2 separate regions of the Homo sapiens genome follow, and region 1 is linked to region 2. Evidence: promoter capture Hi-C in 16 types of primary human blood cells and fetal thymus (Javierre and others, 2016). All regions are on one chromosome and are shown on one strand. Each heading gives the region's core, a stretch centred on a gene start or on the middle of the fragment in contact. The rest is flanking DNA. Distances are from core to core; before and after follow the strand shown. Region 1 overlaps TRABD2A (TraB domain containing 2A). Region 2 holds the start of DNAH6 (dynein axonemal heavy chain 6).

Evidence for each region. Contacts are between HindIII fragments. The CHiCAGO score rates a contact against its expected background, and 5 or more counts as called.
Region 1: a fragment that was not itself captured here is called in contact with the fragment with the promoter of DNAH6 in region 2 in 1 of 17 cell types (naive B cells); the score reaches 6.6 in naive B cells.

Annotation. Positions count from the first base shown.
Region 1 is chr2:84,873,771-84,880,983 of GRCh38, forward strand. It overlaps TRABD2A (TraB domain containing 2A), which reads right to left. Exons shown (of 7, transcript NM_001277053.2): 1 at 7,162-7,213. It also overlaps the pseudogene RPL12P18. Among named protein-coding and RNA genes, the nearest start is that of TRABD2A, 3.7 kb to the right of the region's middle. RefSeq lists enhancers at 6,556-7,058, 7,059-7,213. The HindIII fragment of the contact is 1,025 bases long and covers 2,870-3,894 here.
Region 2 is chr2:84,513,425-84,520,648 of GRCh38, forward strand. It overlaps DNAH6 (dynein axonemal heavy chain 6), which reads left to right and starts at 3,074. Exons shown (of 77, transcript NM_001370.2): 1 at 3,074-3,159; 2 at 4,395-4,627. The coding sequence starts at 4,403. The HindIII fragment of the contact is 7,595 bases long and covers 1,347-7,224 here.

The DNA of each region.
Region 1 (7,213 bases), core at 2,132-4,631, 360 kb after region 2:
GAGTAATTTTAGTTTATTTGTTCATTTAGAGGTCTGGTTCATGAAATGTCTGGGGACCACTGACCTATATAAGAGATCTAATTGCACAATGTCCAGGCAGTCTACCCAAGAACTTCTACATAGTTTCCAACTGGGAGACACAGCAAACAAGCTGAAATGTTATTATTAAACCCATGGACACCTGATTCATTGTCATCTATCAGGACACCATCATGTTAAACAAATATATTCCCAGGAAAATCAAACCCATACTGCAGGATAATGGAGGGGTGGGGTTCGTTTTGGTTTGGTTTTGGTTTGTTTTTATCCAATACACTTAATCTGCCTAAGGTCCCCATCCTACCTCAAAATACCTGCATTTCTCTTCAGAAGCAGTCTGTTCAGTATGCATCCATTTTCATTTTATTATTTATTTATTGTTGCCTTTTCAACTATTACTGGTCTAGAAATAAGGTCACTGTATGATCTTTTCACTGAAAACTGATTAAATTTAAAAACACACACACACGCACATACACGTCTGGCCTCTAGCCATGTAATGGCAGTACCGATGCTAACAGCAGCTGTTCACTGTGTGCCAGCCTCCACCCAAGCATTTCGCCTGGACTGTCCCACTGCCTGCATTCAACACAATTATTTCTGCTGAGCCTACCATGTGCCAGACACTGTTCTAGGCACAGAGAATACAACAGTGAGTGACACACAGTTCCCTGTTGGTGCCAATTGCTGTGGAGAACATGTAAGCTGGCTTTAAGTCTTTCAGCCTGGAGGAGGCCAAGATGTAACTTTCTTCCAGTGTCCCAAATCTGGGTTCATCTGACACCAGCCGACTTGACCATGCCACCTAAGTTGGACCCTAACAAGATCAAAGTCGTATACCTGAGTTGCACCGGGAGTGAAGTCAATGCCTCATCTGTGCTGGCCACCAAGATCAGCCCCCCTGCGTCTGTCTCCAAAAAAGGTTGGTGATGACATTGCCAAGCCAACCAGTGACTGGAGGGGTCTGAGGACTACAGTGAAACTGACCATTCAGAACAGAGAGGCCCAGATTGAGGTGGTACCTTCTGCTTCTGCCCTCGAAGCCTTCAAGGAACCACCAAGAAATAGAAAGAAACAGGAAAACATTAAACACAGTGGAAATATCACTTTTGATGAGGTCGTCAACGTTGCTCAACAGATGCATCACCAATCTTTAGCCAGAGAACTTTCTGGAACCATTAAAGAGATCCTGGGGACTTCCCAGTCTGTGGGCTGAATCTTGATGGCTGCCACACTCATGACATCAACAATGGTGCAGTGGAATGCCCAGCTAGTTAAGAAGCACAAAGGAAAACATTTCAATAAGGGATCATTTGACAGCAAAAACCACAAAAAGAACATGTAAGCCAGAAAAGGGACAGTGAGTACTGTGGCACAGGGTTGCAGGGGTGACTTTAAGTAGGGGGACCAGAAAAGTCACTGAATGTCTATAAAGACATCTAAGCCTTGCCGTGAAGGAGACGAGGGGCCCACTATGGGGATATCTAAGAGAAGAGCATTCCCTCCAGGAGGCAGAAACAGCATGCAAAGGCCCTGAGGCAGGGAGGGCCTCCATGTACTGGAAGACCAGCAAGGAGGCCAGCACGACAGAGAGGGATAGCTGAACAGAAAAGCAGGAGGCAGAGGTCAGAGAGGTGAGTGAGGTCAAGCCATGCAGGGTCGGTGGGCCTCTGGAAAGGCCCCAGGAAGGGCTCAGGCTTTCAACTGATTCAGATGGGAGCTAGCCCAGGTTTTTGAGAGAGGAGTGACATCAGCTGACAGTGTGTTCAAAGGCTCGCCCTGGAGGCTGGGATGAATAGAGGGATGAGGGCAGACACAAGTAGGTCAGTTAGGACATTACCAAAATAATCTGAGTGGGAGTGACAGGATTGATGGGAAGTGATCAAATTCCAGATGTAGTCTAGAAAACAGGATTTGCTGGCCAGCACGGTGCCTCATGCCTGTAATCCCAACACTTTGGGAAGCTTGAGCCCAAAAGTTTGAGATCAGCCTGGACAACATAGCAAGACCCTGTCTCTACAAAATATTTAAAAATTAGCCAGGCATGGTGGCAGGCACCTCCAGTCCCAGCTACTTAGGAGGTTGAGGTAGGAAGATGGTTTGAGCCTGGGAGGATGAGGCTGCAGTGAGCTATGATTGCACCACTGCACTCCTGCCTGGGCAACAGAGTGAGACCCTATCTCAAAATTAAAAAAAAAAAAAAAGGAAAGAAAACAGGACTTCCTGATGAAAGGATGAGGTTATCATTAACAGATATGGAGAAGGACGGGGGTGAAACAGGATTAGAGGGGAAGGTCAGAAATTTGGTTTTGGATCTGTCCAATTGACATGTCAAGCATACAACTTGTGCCAAGGTCCAGGTGGTAGGTGAATATGTAAGTCTGGAGCTTGGGAGAGGCCTGGGTCAGAGATGAAGATGAGGGCATCATCACCATGTAGATGTTCTTTAAAGCCATGGGACTAGACAAGGTCTCCAACAGGATGTCCACAGGAGAAAAGTTCTAGGAATAGACTCAGGGCCCTCTCACCCTAAGAAGTCTGGGGAAAGAAGAGCAGCTAGCAAGGGAGAATGAGAAGTGGCCAGCAAGGTTGCTGGGAAAATCAGAAGAGTAGGAGGCCGATTGAAGAAAGTACTTCAAGGAGCAGAAAGTAAGCAAGCGGGTTAAATGTGGATGGTAGGCCAAATAAATCAAGAATTTGAGAACTGACCTCTGGATTGAGCAACACTGAAGTCACTAGGGACTCAGACAAGAACAGTTTTAGTGGTGTGGTGGGAGCAAAAATATGCCCCATGCTAAGTGGTGGACAGGTAGGCTGACTCCTGAGTCCAAGCTTTTAAACGCCATATTTATGCAGCCTTAACATGCAATAGACTTTACCTCTGATTCAGAGTCATATCTTTTTTCAGTTAATACCCTGCTAGTTGTATTGTTGCTGAGGAGCACCACCTGATTCCAAATCTAGAAAGGCTCTGTCCAGCTCATCTTCCCGATCCCAGATGATTGCCCAGATAAACCACACTGACCTTGTTACATCCTCAGGTGCCACCTTTCCCATTTTCTCTTTTCAAGTTAACACAGCTCAGGGGCTTTTCTGCTTTTTTATGCCAAGGGCTGTATCTTATTCACCTTCATATCCCCAAATACTGAAATACTTGCCATATACTACTACATAGGAGCTCAAAAAGAGTTTTTTAAAGAAATGAATCTTATCTTGTACAATTTCTTCAATACCTACAGATCTGTTCTGACCAAAGGGCACCCGGATTCCCACTGTGTGCACCAATAACCATTCCTGTGGAACACTGATCCTGCCCTACCAGACATGTCTTCAGCAGGGCACAGGCTGAAAGAAGAGTCTTCAGGACTCTTCTTTACCTTACTTTGCCCACTGGCGAGCCCCCGGACCCTTGCACTTACTGTACTGGTGCAACTGCCTCTGCCTCTCTCATACTGATATCCTCAGGGTAGGGCTATTTATCTCTACAAAAAAAAAAAATCCTTCACTACCCCATTTCACTGTTAAAATATATGGCAATTAGAAGAAGCCATAGATTTTAACATTAGGGTGGTTTAAAAGAAAAAAAAACTGAACCACGATTAACATGTCCCTTCTAACTTGTTGCAACTGTTCCCAGAAGGAAAAGACAACCGGGCATGGTGGCTCATGCCTGTAATCCCAAGACTTTGGGAAGCTGAGGCAGGAGGACCATTTGAGGCCTGGAGTTGAAGGTTACAATGAGCTATGATCACGACACTGCCCTCCATCCTGGGTGACAGAGCAGGACTGTGTCTCAAAAAAGAAAAAAGAGAGAGAGAAAACATGGCCATGGGTGACTGAGACACAGAAGCTACAAGCTTCTGAATCAAACTGAGATTTTAACAGACACCTGTGTAGTCCATCCAGTGAAAAAGAACAAGGCACAATGACAACTGCATATTGCAAGCTAACTCCGTAACACCCAGCACACCCTCAGCTCCTCCCATCCTAGCATCCCTGGACCTGCAATAACTGCACTTTTCCAAGATTACTCTTCAGCAGACCAGCCACAATGAAGCTGGCTTTACATTATCCTTTTCATTCAACAAATATTTTTTGAGCATCTGCTATGGCAAGGCACTCTTCTGGATACTGGGGATGCAGAAGCAAACAAAACAGACAAAAATCCCTACCCTTATGAAGATGACATAGGGGAAGGGGCAGCAATAAACAAAAATTTTTATCAGATGGTGATTAAGTGCTATAAATAAAAATAAAGCAGGGAAGGCAGATGGTAGTGGTGGCAGCAGTTGATGTCACCTTTACGAGAGTAATCAGGAAGAAACTCATTGAGAGACGCTTGAGCCAAAGCCAGATGGAGGTAAGGGAGCAAGCCTGTGGATAAATGAGGGGAGAATTTCCCAGGGGGAAGAAAGAGCAAGTATAAAAGGCATCAGGCTGGACACGGTGGCTCACGCCTATAATCCCAGCACTTTGGGAGGCTGAGGCGGGTGGATCATGAGGTCAGGAGTTCGAGACCAGCCTGCTCAAGATAGTGGAACCCCATCTCTACTAAAAATACAAAAATTAGCCGGGCTTGGTGGTGGGCGCCTGTAATCCCAGCTGCTCAGGAGGCTGAGGCAGGAGAATCACTTGAACCCTGGAGGCAGAGGTTGCAGTGAGCCAATGTAGCATCACTGCACTCTAGCCTGGGTGACAGATAGAGCAAGACTCTGTCTCAAAAAAAAAAAAAAGGCAGCAGGCAGGAATAGGAAAGAACACTAAGAGTTCTGTTTGACAAGAAAGAGACTCAACCTGCGTGGTGCTCAGGGTAAACCCTGCAGTGTCTAGGGGCCAATTTGGGCTCAGAAGACCTCTCTAATGATTAACCAACCATGAAAACCAAACCAGCTCTCAAGGCTACAGTCCTGCAGAATCCTATAGGGGCTGCTGCACTGGATTGGAGGCTGGATCCCAGGACTTCCACTCTAGAATCTCAAGACCCCAACCCACTGAGGAACCCAACCACAATGCCCTTACAGCATGTGGGTCAGACATACAGCATGTGTGCCGCTGATTGGCCTTCCCAATTCCGCAGGGGGTAAGACAGAGTTTGCCCACAGAATAGAACAGCAATTCTCAAAGTATGGTCCAGGGACCTGTGGGTGTCCCCAAGAGCCTTTCAGGGAGTCTATAAGGTCAAAACTGTTTTTATAAAACTAAGATATTTTCCTTTCACCCTCATTTTCTCACAAGGTACTGTAGAATTTTCTGGAGGCTACATGTGTGTGATGAGGTCACTGCTCTGATGGCTAATGGAATGTGTGCTATGTTGTGTTTTACTACTATCTCCATTAATTCACATAAAGTAAAAGTCTTTGAGGTTTTCAATACTTTTTTTTTTTTTTTTTTGGATATAGGGTCTCGCTCTTTCACCCAAGCTGGAGTGCAGTGGCACAATCACACCTCACTGGCCTCCACTCCCAGGCTCAAGGTTTCCTTCCACCTCAGTCTCTGGAGTAGCTGGGACTGCAGGCACATGTCCCCACGCTGGTAATTTTTTTTATTTTTTTGTAGAGACAAGGGTCTCGCCATGTTGGCCAGGCTGGTCTGCAACTCCTGGGCTCAAGTGATCCACCGCCTTGGCCTCCCAAAGTGCTGGGATTACAGGAGTGAGCTACCATGCCGGGCTTCTTTGATAATTTTTTGTAACGTAAAGGAGTCCTGAGACCAAAAGGTAGGACGATGGAATAAAGGACTCATAAAGACAGATTCTAAAGGAGAGAGATCTTATCCAGACTCACTCGTCATAATTACCAGTCGGTAATAGGTTTTGCAGAAGTGAAAGGCAATGTGCTTTCTTGTGAGGAGATGGACTCCTGCCTTGTCTAACAAGCATGAAGCGGCCACACCGCAACAGAGTTTGAAACCATGCCTGGTGCAGACTCCCCTCTCCAGCTGCCGCGCCTCCTGCCTTGGTAGAGGGCCGTCCGCAGCCCCGCGACGCCTTACAGAGGCGAACACCGTGCGTCTTCCCAGCCCGGAGCTCCAGGATCGGCTCTATTTGGCCGTCCTCTGCTTTGCTGCAGTTGGGATGAGGAATAAAATTGCGAATGGCCAGGGGTGGAGGCAGACCGGGGAGCTGCGCAGGTGTCATCAAAGGTGGGCCTCTAAATTCCAGCCCCCACTCCCTCAACCCACCCCCAACCCCCCCCACCCCCGCGTCGCGGGCGCACCAGAAGGATAAGCCTGGCATGGCCCTCTCCAGAGCCAGGGACGCACAGATATCAAACCCACCGGAACAAATGCGCGAAATTCAACCTATGCCGCACTCAGAAGAGAGGGACTCGAGAACCACAGAAAATTCTGAGTGTAGGAAAACTGATCAGAGAAGGAAATATTCATCTCGAAAGAGGTCCAGCCTCGGAGACGCAAGACCTGTCCGCTATAGAGCTGTGTTGACTCGGGCAGGTCACTGAGCCTCCCTTGCCTGGGTTTCCCTCACCCACAAAACGTTGATGCGAACATCTAAAGCGCCCGGCTGGACACGCAAGGCTCGGACAGTGGTCACTCCGCGAACGCACTCTGTGACCTGGAGCACACAGGTCCCCCGCTGAGTGTCAGTTTCCCAGATCGGTAAAAACAAGGGAAATGGCTTCAACTCCCTAAAGTCCCTTCTAACTCAGGCACTGAACATATGAAGGTTAAGCCAAGCAGCTTCAGGGCGCTGTTAATATTTTGATAAGAGCAGGTGAAATTAAACTCTTAAGGAAGAGAGGGAAGAAGAAACTTCAAATAAATGTGCCCAAGTTCCTGGTCCGGTACTCCCTGGCGGATCCGTCCCCCGAAAGCTCGCGAAAATGGCTGGCGAGACCCCAGAGGCTCTCTCGGACGCCCTTGGGCTGGCGGAGGGCAAAGGCCAGGGCACTGAGTCGCTTGGAGCCTGCGGGCTGCGCCCCCGCGGGAAAGGGGAACCCGAGGGCACGGAGAGGAGAGCGAGCAAGGAGCGCCGCGGTGCTAGGTGAAAGCCCAGCCGCGGAAGTCGGCTCGGGGTCCGAAAGCGCTGCTTCGCGGGGTTCGGAGGGAAACCATCCCAAGGAGGTGCAGAGAGGCCGGCTCTCCAGCACCCGACGCGCGCCTTACTTGGGGCTTGAGCTCGCAGTTGGCGGTGCCGGGCGCCCCGCGCCGCGAAGCT
Region 2 (7,224 bases), core at 1,824-4,323:
ACTGAAGTCTTACAACTTTTGTGGAAGGATGGACTTTTAGAGTTCCTTACTCTACCATTTTTGCTAATGTTATTCCCATAATTACTTTTAAATTTTATATTGTCATTATCCTTGAACATTTCATAAATATTTTATGTATTCTATATTTAAGAGTTCTAATATATAATGTGTTTGCCTTTTAAGTCTTGTTTATTCTGCTAACTCTTGTTTGGAGTGGCTTGTTTTCTTGTATGCTTGGGTTTTTTTTAATTGTAAATTTATATTTGGCTGAAACTAACTTGTGAGAATTCTAAGGACTCAGAGTTGATGATGCCTTTCTCTTCATGGGTATTTCCTAGTAGCTTGCATTTTTTTCCCCAGACCACATAGGTAGTGTAAATGAAAAACCCAGAACTAGTTTTGTCTATACTCCTAAATTCCTGGGGGAGACTATTATATTTTTAACAATTTTTTCCCACCTGGATCTACAGGTAGAAATATGCTGGTTTTCCTGTAGGTTTTTGTCACTGCCAGTTTTTTCCTAGTCCAACCTATTACTGAGGGGATAATTCTTCCAACAGTCTCAGATGTGTGTGGCAACTGTAGTTTGCTCTTCCATTTTGTGTAGACTCAAGCAAGGCCTAGTCTTCCATTTCTCCTCAGCATTAATCCCTGAAGCTATATGTTCTTTGTATAGGCATTTGTACCCACAGCACCCACAGCTTCCATGTTATTTATTGCTCTGGTTTCATCTGATTATTATTTTGACACTTGAGGATTCCCTTATTTCTGTGAGCCCTGCTATACTCCACTATATATCCAGAAGCAGAATTCTATGATTCAATAATCTTGGGCTCAAATTCATATAGAAATTTAAGTTGATGGATCTGGATTTGTATCTCAGCTCTGCCACTTACTACCTCTGAAGTGACTTGGGAAAGTCACACAACCTCTTTAAGCCTCAATTTCCTATCTGTGGAATAGGTATAATAATACCTCTAACATAAGGTTATTGCAATGATTAGTGGAATAGCACCCATCACAAATGGCCTGGTATATAAATCTTAACCTAATGCTAAAAAAATTTTAACTGCATTTCCTTTTACTATTAAAGATGTGAACTTGTGAGTAACCATTTGTAACCTACTTCTTTAGCTGTGAAATGGGAATTTCATGTTTGTTAGCAGTACTTAAGAAAATGAATGGGAAATATAAAGCACAGTACTTGGCACATAAGAAACAACCAATGAAATGTAACAATTATCTATAAGAACTATAAAAATAGCAGGCTATACACAAAGCTGCTACATTGATTTAGTAAGTGGTCAGTTGATAATGAAGATAACATCTTGCCACATTAAAAAATAAGCTTGGAGAGATTTGATGAGTAGTGTTTCATATAGTAATATCTTTGTAAAACTATGTCTGTGTCTTCCAATCCTCCCACCCCCACTTCACCACAGTCACACACACACACACACACACACACACACACACTTCTTAGCTTTTGGAATGCTTTCAGCTGCACATGGTAACAGTTGTGTACAATCCACCTTAATCTAAAAAAGGGAGTCTAGGATTGAGGAGCAATAGATTTGTCTCCATTGCATAAACTTTGAAGGGAACAGATTAAAATTTTCACTGCACATCTGAAATGAAATCTATTCTGAGGATGTGTCTAACATTGCTTGTTATTATAACTTTATGCTTCGATGTACTGAGTTGGCTTTGAATTTCTTTTTCCATTATTAGTTTATATCAATGATTGCATTTTACTAGCTGACTAGTTTTGTGTGTATTTTTCATCTCTGGGGAATTAATCTTTATTTTGTCTACATTTGAAGTTTTTCAGAATTTTTAAAATTTTTTCTAAACTGACTTTACTCTCTTGCTGTTTCCAGTTTCTCATTAGGGATTGGGAGATCTGCATTCTAGTTTTGTCTGTGGCACAACTAGCTGCCTGACCTGGAGTAAAGCACTTGCTTTCTCTGGGCTTCAGTTCCCTTACAAATCAAATAGGGGAGTTGGACTATGTGACCTGTAATCTCCATTTTAGCTCTATCTGTGATTTAGAGAATCATACTACCATATCAAATACATAACTGAATATGTTAAGATTGAGAAGATGCAGGCTGTGAGTACAATAATGTAAAGAACTTCACATAGAGCAAGAAACAAATATCAAGGTAACAAAGAGCAACCGAAAAGAGCAAAAGAAAATGATGATTATGTCATTTTGGAGACAAGGTTGAAAACCAGAGCTCCTCCATGTGGTGTAAGGATTCATCAAGACAGGTGAAAGGATTTCTTCCCCTGATCAGTAACTGGGATAAGGCATCCCGAGTAAGCAACAGGCCCTGGCCTTCGATGGGGTCGCTCCATACAAAATTAGCAACAGTCACTTGGGAACTTAAGTGAGATTAAACGCCAGAATAAGATCCAGGGTCTGCTTTGGTAGAAGGGGCACGGGAACCAAGTAATACGGGCTCATCCTATGCCTGACACCTAGGTTACCTTCCAAGTGGAAAAGGACATTAGTTGGAAGGCCACAGTGGAGTTTAAGGGAAGAGGAGGCCACATTTCTTGAGCCTTAAGACACTCGGGAGGAGGTTGGCGGGTAGGGCAGGGATGCAGAGTGGTTGCTTCCTTGGAGAGTGGGACCTCATTTGTCTACACAACCCACATTCCTCTCCTGAAATTCTCGACTCTTTCGGATAAATTTCTATTAAAGTGAACGTCAAGTCAGTCTTACGCCTCTTGAAGGAAAACAGAAAAGAAATTCCTGTAAGAGGTTGAGATGGGTGTGAGTGGTCGATAAGCAACGAAGCAAACAGAATTAACCACCTCCTTTGGCTGCTCTGCCTACACCTCCTGGCACAGTACTCAATTCCCAGCGCAGAGGAGGAACCAGGCTGTGCGGCTTCTCCAACAATCAGCGAAGTAGGAAATGTTTCGGAGACACTAATTGGCTCGATTGCCTGGCGCGCTCCTGGACCGAAAGCTGTGGCTGGTTGAGGCGTTGCCTGGCGACGTGTTACTCAGTGGCGCAGTGCTTCCGTAGAGGCCAGCTGGTTGCTACGCAGCAACAGGAAACATTCCGCGCTACCGAGTACTTTCTACTCCCGACCAGGCATTGCTCTCTCTGGAGACCCTCGGCGGTGGTTGCTGTATTTTGACTTGGTGAGTCCTGGGAACCGACCCTCGGGCCTGGGCTCCGATTTCTGGGCCAGAAACAAAGTCTGACTTTCGGAGAACATAAAGGCTCAAAGAGGCAGAGAAAATCAATGGAAAGGCATTTCAGTGATTGTCTGCTATCCGCCCATCATTTTAGAGGGGTGGAAAGTGAGCAATAGCGATATCAAAAGACTTGTCCAAGATCTCACGCTGAGTGGTCAAATCTGGACCTGCGCTGTTAAATACGGTAATCTTTAGACCTCGTGTGGCTAGTCTGAATTGCAATGTGCTCATATGTAAAAAGCACACTGGATTTTGAAGGCGTGGTACCAAAAGACAACATAAGATATCACTATAATTTTTATACTGTGTGTTCAAATGATTATGTTTTGTATATGGTAAATAAAACATATTATTAAAATTAATCTCACCTATTTCTTTTTTAAAAATGCTATTGCTTGAAAATTAAAATTGCATACAAAGCTCTCATATTTCTATTGGCCAGCACTGATCTATATAAAACCTAGGTCTGCCGACACCTGATTCAAGACCTCTTGTGCTAACCCTATTTTGGAAGGTGTTTCGAAGTATCTCCACTCATCTAATGGGGTGAAAGTGTGCGTGGTGGTGCAGAGTGCAAGACCATTACAAAAGGCTCATATTTCTAGTGTTTTAGGACCTTGCTACTCAAAGTGTATGAATCAGAACCTTCATTTTAACAAGCTCTGCAAGTGATTGTCCTGCACGTTAAAGCTCCAGAAGCACTGTGTAAGAAATTAGCCCTCAATTCTTTTTTTTCCCTTTGTTTCTTCTTGAGTACCTATACTGTATTTTTCAGACTGCGTGTACTAGAATTAGCTGCATTTTGAACAAGTTCCGCAGGAGATGAGAAACATTGATCTCAATACTAATTACATTTCCTTTTGTCCTTCCAAATCTAGACCAGTGTGGTCTCCAGATGAGCAGCAGCAGCAGCATCCGCCAAGAACTTGCAAGAAATGCAAATTCCTGGGTTCCACCCTAGCTACAGGGGTTCTTGAAGCCTAGGCACAGTTTCTAATTTTTTATTCCTTTGGTTCAAGTCCTCAGTTCGGGAAGACTGGGGTAACTTTGATGGGTTTTATTTGAGGGAAGTGAGCGAATTCAACTCTTCCTAGTCCTTAAGTCCCTCTCCAGTAGCCTCCTTCCCCAATCCTTTTGATCTACTTTTCATTTTCTTTTTCCTCACCTATTCTTTTCAGGAGTAAGGATGACTTTTCGGGCCACAGATAGTGAATTTGACCTGACAAATATTGAAGAGTATGCCGAAAATTCTGCACTTTCAAGACTGAATAATATAAAAGCCAAACAAAGAGTGAGTTATGTGACATCCACAGAAAATGAATCTGATACACAAATCCTAACGTTTAGGCACATTACAAAAGCTCAGGAGAAGACAAGAAAACGACAGCAGCCTATAAAACTAGAGCCTTTGGTAAGTTCAAAAACCATTGTTTTAGCCTCTGTAGCCACAGAGGAAGTTGTAAAATTGCTTTGGAGGATAGAAGTCATGTCCAGACTCTGAACTGACAAAGAAGGAATGAAAAGCTAAAAGATAATAACTGCTTATGTAGTTGTAAATACGGTAAATATTTATTAAACAAATATTAAGTTCTAGGCACTGTTTAAGTTGAAGGATACAGTGGTGAACAAAGTTTTCAGGCAGATAAGTCCTCTCTAGGATTATGTACAATACAGATACTTAACTATGTATGCTATTAGGCACTTTTAGATATTAGGGTACCATTTAACACTGAGAAGTTTAGCAAATGTTATATTTAGTTATATAGTTTTATTATTTTCAAAGTACATGCCTTTGTATTTAAAAAATTGTGTGCATGTTGAAAATACTTAATTTTTAGAAACCATTTATGCCCTTGGATAATTATAAACGCATGTAAAGAGCAGTGAAAGCGAAAAAATTAAAAAGTAAAAGTTGTCCTCTCCACCATTAGACGTTAGCTACATCTATTTCTCTCTGACGTATTTGCCTTCACTTGACAAAAGTGTATCACTAACCGTTGATGATTAAAGTTGTTTAATTTGTCACCAATGCCATCTACTCATGTATATTAAAAGTTTGTTATGTGCGTACTCTGTGCCAGGGTTTGAGCCATGCTCTGAGGAATGAACAAAGCAAATGAACAAATATAAATGAACAAAATAAACAAATATAAATGAACAAAAATGAACAAAGCAGACAAGATTCCTGTTGACATTCTAGTAATTCTAAATAAGCAGACTGAACAATTTCACCTAGTGATAGTAACTATTTAAAAAATAAGCCAAACGCATGGGCTCATGCCTGTAATCTTAGCACTTTGGGAGGCAAAGGGAGAGGGTCATTGAGCCCAGGAGGTAGAGGCTGCAGTAAGCTGTGCTTATACCACTGCACTCCAGCCTGGGTGACAGAGTGAGATCCTATCTCTAAAAAAAGAAAAGAAAAGAGCACATGGACTATGGTAGAGACTCAGAAGAGACTGCTTTAGATTGGGTGACTAGAAAGGTCTCTCTGAGGAGATTTTATCTGAACAAGTCTCAGCCAACAGCCTGTATCAACTGACAGATATCTGCAATTTAGGCAGAGCTCAGTGGGGACAGCTTGCCTCTACTCCACTGGGCACCAGCTGAGGCATTGATGCTGTCCCCACTGAGCTCTGCCTAAATTACAGAATTTTTAGCAAAATAAATGTTAGTTTTTAAGTTACTAAGTTTGAGGCAGTATGTTATATACTAACATAACTTGCACAGTATAAATAATACATGAATAAAATAATTCATACAATATTAAAAAATAACAAGGAAAAAAGTGAAAATGACCTGAAGTTTCACCATGCAGAGAGAAAGTAGCTTAATAGTCTAGTGACTAATTTCACACCTGTGGGTGTCTGCAGTTTGACTTCTTTTTATAGAGTTGGTAAGAATGTATTTTTGTTATTGACTTCCCTCCCCTCAACTGCCTTCTCCTCTCCCTTTCCCTTCCCCTTCTTCTTCCTATTCTCCTCTTCCCCCCTTCTTTCCCCTCCTCTTCCTTCTTCTTTTCTTCCTCCTCTCTCTCTTCCCTTACCCCTCCTTCTCCTACTCTCTTTCTTTTCTACTCTTCTTCTTTTACATTTTTTCCTTACCTCCAAATTCCCCAATCTCTGACCCCCTTTTCTATGCCATCTAACATTGATGACATCTAGTATATGTCTTTTCTTGCCTTTGTCCATGCTGAAACAATTTTATACAAATTTATTTGTAATTTTGTAATTTTACAAATGTATGAAACTTACAATTTGTAATTGTGTGTATTTGTAATATTTTCATGAAAATATTACAAATAAATACAATACTCTCCATCTAGCTTTTTACACTTAGTGGTGGCATAGTATCTGATTGTATGAACATTCCATAATTTACTAAATCATTCTCCTCTTTTGAGACATTCAAGTTGTTTTGCCAGTATTTCAAATGGTACAGTAAAATTGTATTATCCTTTTGTATTGGTGCTTATATTCCTATGAGACAGGGCCCTGTGAGTGGTGTTGTGGAGTTGATGAAAAAGTTACATATATGTATAATTGTATTTAATTGTATATTAATTTCCATATAATTATATTTAACATACAATTTTACTTAATTCACACATATTTTACCTGGAAACCAGTTTCTCAATCCAATGTACACATGTTGCCTAAATTAAATTGCATTTTCACCCTTAACCTAAGTTATACTATAATCTCTTCCAACTTTTTGTTGCCTGATCTGCATAGGTGAAACTGCACCTTCACACAGGATGCAGCTAGTGTTTTTATGTGTAACTTTTTTAACGTTTATTTTAGATTCAGGGGTATATGTACAGATTTGTTACATAGGTAAACTGAGGTCATGGGGGTTTGTTGCACAGATTATTTCATCTCTCAGGTACTAAGTGTAGTACACAATAGTTGTTTTTTTCTGTTCCTCTCCCTCCTCACACCCTCCTCCCTCAAGTAGACTCCAGGGTCTCTTGTACCTCTCTTTTTGTTCATGTGTTGTCATCATTTGGTT